Linked DNA regions of Homo sapiens: region 2 is linked to region 1. Evidence: promoter capture Hi-C in human tissues and cell types (Jung and others, 2019). All regions are on one chromosome and are shown on one strand. The core of a region is centred on a gene start or on the middle of the fragment in contact, and the rest is flanking DNA. Distances in the headings are between cores, read along the strand shown.

Evidence for each region. The method cuts DNA at HindIII sites, captures the fragments that hold promoters and counts their contacts. A contact is called where the count stands out against the background at its distance.
Region 2: a contact is called between a fragment that was not itself captured here and the fragment with the promoter of ERBB4 in region 1, in 1 of the 25 tissues and cell types used here (hippocampus).

What each region holds. Positions count from the first base shown.
Region 1 is chr2:212,535,882-212,540,609 of GRCh38, reverse strand. ERBB4 (erb-b2 receptor tyrosine kinase 4) reads left to right here and starts at 1,808. Exons shown (of 28, transcript NM_005235.3): 1 at 1,808-2,161. The coding sequence starts at 2,080. RefSeq lists an enhancer at 2,777-3,277. The HindIII fragment of the contact is 8,258 bases long and covers 1-4,728 here.
Region 2 is chr2:212,355,935-212,360,662 of GRCh38, reverse strand. All of the region lies in intron 1 of ERBB4 (erb-b2 receptor tyrosine kinase 4), which reads left to right. Among named protein-coding and RNA genes, the nearest start is that of MIR548F2, 68 kb to the left of the region's middle. The HindIII fragment of the contact is 4,996 bases long and covers 1-4,728 here.

The sequences.
Region 1 (4,728 bases), core at 559-3,058:
TCATCTGCTCTAGGCTTAGTTCCTCTCTGCCCTAGGCTGCTTCTGGTAAAACCGCACGCTCAGCTTGTTGGGCGTCTTCATGGAGCCTGTTATTTGCTGTGGGTCTAAGAAAGGGAAAGCTTCAGGCTTCAGGCATCTGTACCTCCTATCTGTTCTCAGCTCCATGGAAATTCTTAAGGGATGGGGCTATAGATAAGAGAGTGGGAAATGGAGATCAAGGTCTCAAATGAAAGGCAGGGTGGTTTGATTTTTAAGCTCCCCTGATACTTTTTATTTATATATTTGCTGCTTCTAGAAAAACCAAAAAAGGAAAGTGATTCATACATAGAATGCCTGTACAAATAGCAAACCAATAACTACCCCCAGCAGATTCTGGCCCTTGCCAGGGTGCGGTTTCAGAGCTGTAAAAGGCAAGGGATATGTACATTGAAATGACCCAGTCCCAGAATATTTTAGATTCAGAAAAGGTCAGAGACTTTCGTAACTAGCAATGACCTCCAGATTAGGGACCATGAATGTGCAGAGTGAGGACAAGGAAGGGGCCTAAAGCTGGGTCTACTGTAGAATAAACAGAATCATTTAAGGTTAATTATGTTCTGATGTGGCCTCCTTAAATTCTTTCAGGCTGGGGACAATTTCTAGCCCTTTAAGATCAAATCAGTGGCTTTGGACTAGAATCTGCTTAATAAGAATGAACTCCAAAGGTGAAAAAAAAACATAAAATCTAAAAATCAAAGGATATGCCTTTATAAATGTGAAAGTTTAGTTTGGCTCAATGTTGGTCAGTTTAGAAATGTGGGAGTAATCGGAGAGATGGCATAACTGGGGGCGGGAGGCGGGGCGGTGATTATACCCCTACCACTACCTAATCCTCAGGGGCTACCAGTTACTTGCTGTACACACTTTTAAAGTACTTTCTAATTGTGGACCATGAGTGGCAGAGTACTGCGGGCGGAGGCTTTTTGCTGAAAGCAACATTGACTTTTATTTCTAGGGAAAGTCTTGTCTGTAGATGAGCACCGTGGGGCAACGGAGAAAATGCTGACTTTCTTGTTTAAAAAAAAAAAAAATTTCCGTAAGCGGCCCTCCAATGGTCCGTCCACTCAGCAGGCCAGCTGTCCCAGGCCTCTGCCAGGGAGGGAAGACGAGTGCTTCAGTGCATGGCTTCGGTGAGCCCTTTAAATCCAGCTTCCCCTGCCCCCACCAAGAGGCTCCCTTTCCCTGACAGGTGTTTTCCCAACTCCGGAGGCCCAGGATTTTGGGGAGTGGCTGAGCCAATAAGATTTCCCTTTGGAAGGGGGGGGGAAGGGCGTGGCTAGTTGGGTCAGAGCATGGGCGGGGTTTGCGCGGCTGAGCAGAGCCGGCCTGGTTGCGTGGAGGGTTGTTTTATTCCCACCGCCCCCCGCACCTTTTTTTTTTTTTTTTCTGGAGTCTTATTAATTTCTCTGTGGGCTGCAGCTGGAGACCGCGGAGCGCTGGAAATGACGCTCGGAGCTTTAATTACCGCAGCCGCCGGACAAGTGTGAGGAAAGCTGAGAGGAAAAAGAAGGACGGGATCCGGGGAGAAGCGAGAAGCTCCCCCCGCCCCGCTCCCCTCCCGATTTGGACTGGAGGTGCAAGGAAACTGAAGAAGGAGCAGAACATAGCCCGGCTGCGGGGAGAGGCCGGAAACCTACCGCCTCTTTGCAATCAACTTTTTTTGGAAACCTTTCGCCCCCCTTCCTTTTTTATTGTTGACCAACCAGTGAGAGAGAGAGAAAGTGAGGAGGGAGCGAGCAAGCGAAGGCTCACGCGGGGAAATAGCTGCACAGTCCGGCCCAGAGCGCCAAGCGCACACACCGAGCACACTCCCACACGCGCACACACGCGCTCACACTCGCCCCCTCCTCGGGCCCCGGCCCTGGACCCGCGGGCGCGGACTCGGTCGCCCGCCCTGGGAGTCGCCACACCGCGCGCGCCGCGCCCGCCCCCCTCGCACCCCCACGCGCGCCCGGCTGGGGGATCTCCTCCGCGTGCCCGAAAGGGGGATATGCCATTTGGACATGTAATTGTCAGCACGGGATCTGAGACTTCCAAAAAATGAAGCCGGCGACAGGACTTTGGGTCTGGGTGAGCCTTCTCGTGGCGGCGGGGACCGTCCAGCCCAGCGATTCTCAGTCAGGTGGGTTCCTTCTGGCACTCCGGTCGCCGAACCTGCAGCCGCCGGCGGGGCTGCCTCGAGTGGCTCCCCTGCCCTCTTCACCCATCCCGGGAGGCGTGGAGGGACCGCTTGACCGGGGCCTCTTCCCTGGGCTTTCGGTCACCCCTCTTTCCATTTGAAACTTACCCTGTATGTGTGCGTTTGCTTTATTTATCGTGAAAAATCACTCTGAGTCCCTCTTTTCTCTCCTTAACCCCCTGCTTTTCTTTCCCGAGCGTTTTGTTTGGGAGCCTAAGCGGGATCCCTTCTGGTGGCGCCTGTTGTTCGGGACATGGGAGACCCAAATCCCCAGTCAGAGGAGACTCTTCTGTCCCTGTCGGGTCCCCGAGGGCAGAACCCGCACCGCCGGGGCCGCGGTCCTGGGGCGGTGCTGGCTGGGCCTCTCCCGAGCCGAGCCCGAAGGGCGGTGGAGAGCGGCGCTCAGAAAATCGGGCTTTGCACCTGTGTGTGCTGCTGGCGACCGCTGCGCCCCCAGTCGCCCGAGCCTTGTGGCGTCAGACGCAACTCGCGCCCAGCCCGGGCAGCCGGAGTGCAGCAGGCGGGCGCGCCTCGGTCCGGGGCCCGGAGTTCTGGGCCTCTTCCGCCGGCTTCCCGGAGCCCTCTCCCCATTGACTTGAGGGGCGCTTACTCGCCTGCCTGACCTCTTAAAAAAAAAAAAAAAGGCTTGGCACACTTGAGCCAGAAGCCCGGCCTTCCCGTCGGTTGCCGTGTTTGGCTCCGGGAAGAGTTCTTCCTGTAGTTCAACTTGCTATTGGCCGGAGTCCTTCAAACTTGTCTGTTTACTGCCCGGCCAGGCTGCCGAGCCTGCGGGTCACTGGATCCACCCGAGGCGAAAGCGGCAGCGGCGATGGGTGCGCGGCCACTGCTTGCTGGAGAGCTCGAGCCCCAGGTACCTGGGCAGGCAAAGGGCTAATTGACCCCGAGAGGCAGCGCGGCGGGGCTGGCCCGCCACGGCTTGCAGGACTAATGACAGCACCTGCAGTGCAATGGAGCTCAAAGTTTCTGACACTAGAGTTTCCTGGGGATGAAAGTGGGACGGGAGAGGTCTGAGGAGGACCGGTGTCTTGACGTGGCCAAGGGGTGCCTTTTGGAGAGCCAGAGAGATTTCCGAAACCATCCAGGGATGGTGACTGGAGCGTGGGAAGTAGCTTGAGGTGATAAAGCCCCCGGGAGTGGCGATAGGGAGCGCTTTAGGCCCCCGGAGGGTGTCCTTCTGACCTCACCAAGAAAACGGCTAGCTGTAGTTTTCCCGCTCCGCCGCCGCCGCCGCCGCCGCCTCCTTTGCCTAGTAAATAACAAGTTACAATTATCGAGTCTTTCAAAATGACCTTCGAATGGCACATGTGAGGCGTTTGTGCTGGCCGTTTGCACCCTCCCAATTACTCCGAAATTCTTCACGCATACCAGGTCCCGCGCTCCAGCCACCTCCGGAATCACACCAACACGGACTTGACATTCCAAGCGGCCTCTTAGATACATCTCTTTTTATCTCCCTCCCCACTTCGAGTCCCTTCATATTTTCCCTCAATGGGTTGATTATGCACATTGACCCATTCAAAGGCATTGGCGACCGACATGCAGGCTTAGCCGAGAGGAATTTCTACGAGGCGACCTACTGGGGGCTGTCTGGTTCAGCCTCTGCCACTGGGGGACCCCGCTCCGAGTCCGCAGCAATTTGGTATTAACTGTGCGGCTCCGAGTTGAGCTATGCCGAAAAGCCCTTTTCAGAATTTCTGCAAGGAATGTAATCCAAATTAGTTCTGCAGCTGTCCTCTTCCTCGTCTCAGGCGACACTAGCTCGCGCCCTCGCTTCGTCTCTTCTCGTTTCCCTGGGCGAATTGTCAGACCCACAAGTGAGCCCATTTAGAGCGCGAGGATTAGCGTGCCATTGTTGTTCCGTGTGTGACTCTGTACTTGAAATTCTGGGGGCACAAAGGCGAGCCTCACTTGTTCAAAACACAAAGTGATCCAGATGAAAGGGCCGCACAAAGAAAAGCTCTCGGGTGCATCCCTGGTATAATTGCAACACGCATACTAAGGTGATCCATTGGAAACTGTAAATGCCCCGGGGGACTTCGTTTTTCATCCTCCCCCACCCCCACCCTGCCGCACCTGGCAGGGAAAGTTCAGCTGGTTTTAATGCAGTGCTATTATAAAAACAAGTTACTGTCTGGGGTATGAGTGAGGCTGTGTGTGTTTGTGCCTATGTATGTGTGTGGCTGTGTGTTCCCAACTAAATACATATTGCGCGTCTCCCCTCTCGCGGTTAGCAGTCAGTAGCAGTTTGGAGGAGTTTGTTTTGGTCCAAATGAGAAATTAAGTGCGGATAAGTAAACTAAGCTGCCAGAGGGCGACAAGATGTTGAGTGAATTGCTTTTAGATGAAACAAATTAAGGAAACGAGGGAAGACAATCTGCTTCTCGCATTATTAGACACGCTTGGAGTTCAGGGGAAAGTGGCATATTTTTGAAATGCTAATTTCTTAAGCAGAAGGAATGCACCTTATTTACTGCTCTATGTGAACAGAA
Region 2 (4,728 bases), core at 1,137-3,636, 180 kb after region 1:
CTTAAAATCTTGGTAAATATCCATACATAATCATTAATAAAAATCAGCAGTTGCTACTAAGTTTGGTCATTTAGCAGCATTTACTGAGAGCCCATGATATGCCAAACATTAGATTAGGCATTATTCTAATAAAAAAGTTGCTACAAGAGTCCCGAGGAAAAAAGAAATTACTTCCAGTTACATAAGGGAAGCAACAGAGATTGTTTTGAATTCAGATATGAGACTTGGAGCTTCCAGGAAAGGTAAACCTGTAGAGATGGGGCTAGCAAATAGACATCCAATCAGAAGAAATAGTGCTAATTAAGGCAAGGATGTGGGAAAGGGCAAGGAGTATTTGATGCTGAAAACTTTTCTTTGGCTTGCACACAGTGACAGAAGGGCTGAGAGAGAGTGGAAGTTAACTCTGGACTCATGCTAGGAAGGCTTTGGAAACCTCTAAGATTCTCTGATAATGGGACTATGAGAAGTCTATTAGATGTAAAGAATAGTAGGTCATTGTGGATGCCTTCATTTTGAAGTGATAGAAAGGTTCTTTGTTAGGGACAGTGAGGTGTCAGTTTTCCACAAATAGATCCCTTTACAAACACAGTGCTGATATAGAAGAATAACATTGTTTTACTTCTAGTGTTGTGATAAAATAAGGTTATGTGATATTCTCTGATTCTGATCAATGTTTTTAGATACAAAGATGCAAATTTCTCTTTAGACAAAAGTTACACGTTTGACTTCAGTGGAAAGCTTTTTTCCCAGTGGGCACATTTAAAAAATAAAAAGCAATAATGACTTATTCTTTCTTGAAAAAAAAAATGTAAAGTAGAACATTCTTTGTTTCTGTGGTAAATGTGCGAATGTAATTATTATCTTTTATTTTCTGGTTTAGCATTTGTTTTCTTACCTTTAAGAAAACACAGACAATCTTCACAATAGAATATTGGGTTCTGTTTCCTTTGATGTAGTAATGCATATACAATATTGCACTAATGATTAACTGGTGTGCCCCTGAGGTTTCCCAGACAAAACTGCCTTTCAGCAGATTCCTTATCTGCTATCAGGGGAGTGTTTACAGCAGCTAGAACTCTTAAGCGCCTTGTCTCTGAGACTGATGGGGATAATTAAGCCAGTGTTTGCCAGCCCTCTGCTCTTCTTGGTGAGGTTGGAAACTAGGAAAAAACAGATACATTAGCCCAAAACAAAACCTGCAAATTCATGTTCAGCAATTTGAAATAGATTTTATTGGTTGATTTTCTTCTAAACCTTCCACTTTATTTCTGATAGAAACCTATCTGAACCTTCAGGCAGAATAGAAAACTGCCTTCTCAATACAGATCATCAAATTTTCTATCAAAGCGATATAGATTGATGGAGATATATATGGATATATATATGTATATATATACAAGTTTTTAAAATATGTAAATATTTCTGACTTTTATATATCACATTTAGAACAAGTTTAGATATATACAATAGTATTTAATAAGATATTGCACAGTATTCTGAGTCAAGACATTTTAAAGGGGGCTTGCTGTTGAAGATTTCATGATTTTTAAGAACAATATCTGTTGTGAAATTATGTGGCAAAATATGATGTTGCATTGGTTTATTTTCCCTCATCCTCTGCATTTCTAGAAGAAGAGTTCTCATAATCAGTTTTAAATGAATTGTGCAGAGATGTAGCTGAAATAGAATAATTTATACCAGTTACTCATGCAGTAAATTAGGATAATATACTTTTCTAAACTTAATATATATTCAGTGAATGTATTCATCTTTTTTCATATATTGTATATATCTTTTGACATACAAGGTTTCATAATGAAGGTTAGATTTTGAATCCAATATTTAAGGCTGGTGAGTTATTGCTAAGAAATTATTAAAGCATGAGAATTTCTATACCTCTTTTCTTTAATTCACTCTGAATGAATTGGTGAAAATGACAACATTTAGCCTTTGTGATGTTAGATAGTTAAGTATTCGTTATTCTATCATTTTTCATGTTACTTAAATCATTGATTCATAATTTAAACAGGGTAAATATATACACCAAAATTTCCAGGAATGGAAAACATATATAACCTCATTAATCAAGAAATTTTAATTGAAAACTCCAATTATAAATTAGCTAAGATGTCATTTAAGATGATTTAATCAAGGAATAAGAATTTACTCCCATATGAACATTTATAATCTTCAGCTATTTGAATGGCACACTTTTTGTACAAATTATTTGTCTACTGTACAAGTGTACCTTCCTTGTCTGTGTTTTATTAGGTAAACATAATACTGTTTTTTTTTTAAAAAAAGTGCTAAGAACTGAGTGTGTTATTTGGTACAAAATGCTGCTTGCTGTTTACCAAATGTAAAATTGTAGGAAAAGACATGATCTTAAAATATTTAAGCATATGAAGTTGTTAAAAATATTAATCTGATATTATCAGCACAGGTCACGTAAGTATTTTATGAATTCTCCTTCAGGAAAGATTTAAATAGTTCTTTTTAAAAAAATGTATTCATGTATGAGAAAATTGGTATCCGTTCTTTTAGAAATGAGGTTATAAATAATAGTTTGAATATTTTCCCTGTCAAGCAAATTTGTCTCAGAAACCTGAAGACATCTATGGGAAGTCATTTAGAAATGCTCTGAAAAGCAAAATTTGGCCTAGAAAATGTACTTTGACAAATAGGAGAGCAATGAATACACGATGTTCAAAAGTAATCTAAAGATGATTCTGGGTGAGGCCAGTGGAAATCAAATGAATCCGACACCATGAAATCCATTATTGTTTGACCATTATCTAAACCTCCCTGCTCAGAAAGGATACTTTGTCCCCCCACACCACACTGTGTTTACCTACTATATTCTTGCAGTGTAATGTAGTAACCAAGTGACCGTGGGGCTGAACAATTTCAAGTCTCCCACACAGTGGAGGGCAGCACACTATGTCTTTGATAGAAAGCTACGTTTCTGCACTCTACAGTGTTAAAACAGATCGAAGGAGGTTAGTCAAAGGAAAATGTTGGTTGTGTTGATGAGACCATTTTCAGTGTCTGGGCTTCTCTGTGGGCAAACGTACATTTTCATAAAATGAATATGGGAAAAAGAAAGGTGACATGTTTTTAAATATTGAGCTTGATAAAACAAGCTTATTTTTATTGTATATTTCTGCTGAATTACCTTTTGCCTATTTACCATAATTTACCTATAATAATTTAATATATTTAAATAACTTTGTACACCGCTTATACTTCGAATCTATTTTTAAAGTCGTATTCTCACAGCATTCATGCTTCACAGATGGACAGATGGATCCACTTGAGCACTTTTCTTTGATAAATTGGACTAATTTATCTTAATAATATGAGGACACCATCTAAAGGAACTTTATAATTTATCATAATAAGGAGGTAACCATACAATATTTAAAAGAAAATGAATCCTTTTTTTATTTTAAAGCTCATTGTTCTGAATGAAATACTACAGACCTGTATTGTAAACAAAAAGAAAATGGGGAAAAAAGCAAAAGCTGAGAGACATATGATATCCAGGAATAGCAAATTTGCTCACATAATTTTTGAAGGATAAGACACTTATGTATAAGACACTATTATGTATCTTATGATTTTATTTACATATGTTAAAATTCAAATGATCATGTTTAAAATAATTTTTTCTTAGGCCACAAAAATCCTTTAAAATGATAATGAGAGGAAAATATACTTATGTTTGATTGATATGATCTAGAGTTTAATAATGCATTTTAGTCAGTATGGTGTTTCTATGTATAAGTTTCTAAGGTAGCAAAACCAAGAAATTTATTTTTACTTTATTTCACATAAAAATAGCATCATAGGTGATGTTCAAGCAATTTGACTGAATATGAGCATTCATACTATTAGGATAAAAGTTGGAAAGATCGATTTATCAAGGAATGTTTTTTTTTTACATGGGTTCATCTGTCCATCTGTGACTCAGTAGTGATTATGATTTAAAAATAGAGGGCATGTATAGACAGTTGCAAAAGGAGGATGCTTAAATGTATTGACTTATTTTTAGATAAGCAGGTAAAATAACAAAAAAAACCTACTTTAGGAGACAAGTGTTATGTGATAAATTATGAAGATCATGCTTTGTGAAATGTATTTTTGATACTTACTTTTAAAAGTAATTTGCCATTGGGAGGAGGAGGAGTAGCTGAGAAAAACAAATTATGCCATTAGTAGAGCCATCAGATTTATTTTTTACAAGGCTTTATTCTCTATAAACTAAAGTGAACAAATACAGAATTTAGGGTGGGACATCTGAGACAGACCCATTGGCTCTGCCTGTGGCTGATGGAAGTGTGTACAACTTGATTAATGAGGTCTTGCTGCTCCTGTGAAAACATATTTGTAATTTCTGTAGTTGTGTGAGGATCAGTACAGCAACATGGTTGACTGCCCCCTCCAAAGTACTGGCTGAAGCAGTCTACAAAAAGCAGTTTGGAACAGCGAGTAATATTTAAAGGTGGGTTTGTTAATAGAATCAGCATTTTACAGAAAAGATCAATTGCTTTTATGTTCAGACTTGAATATATAATAATTGTAAGGATAAACAATAACTGTTTTATACCCTCTGGGAGTTTATTTGAAATGCATTACTATATATAAAGAGGAATTAATTTAATTTTGTTTAGTGCTTTTTTCCTTAGCGTCAGTGGGACTGAGCTGCACATTTCAAATTTACCCTTA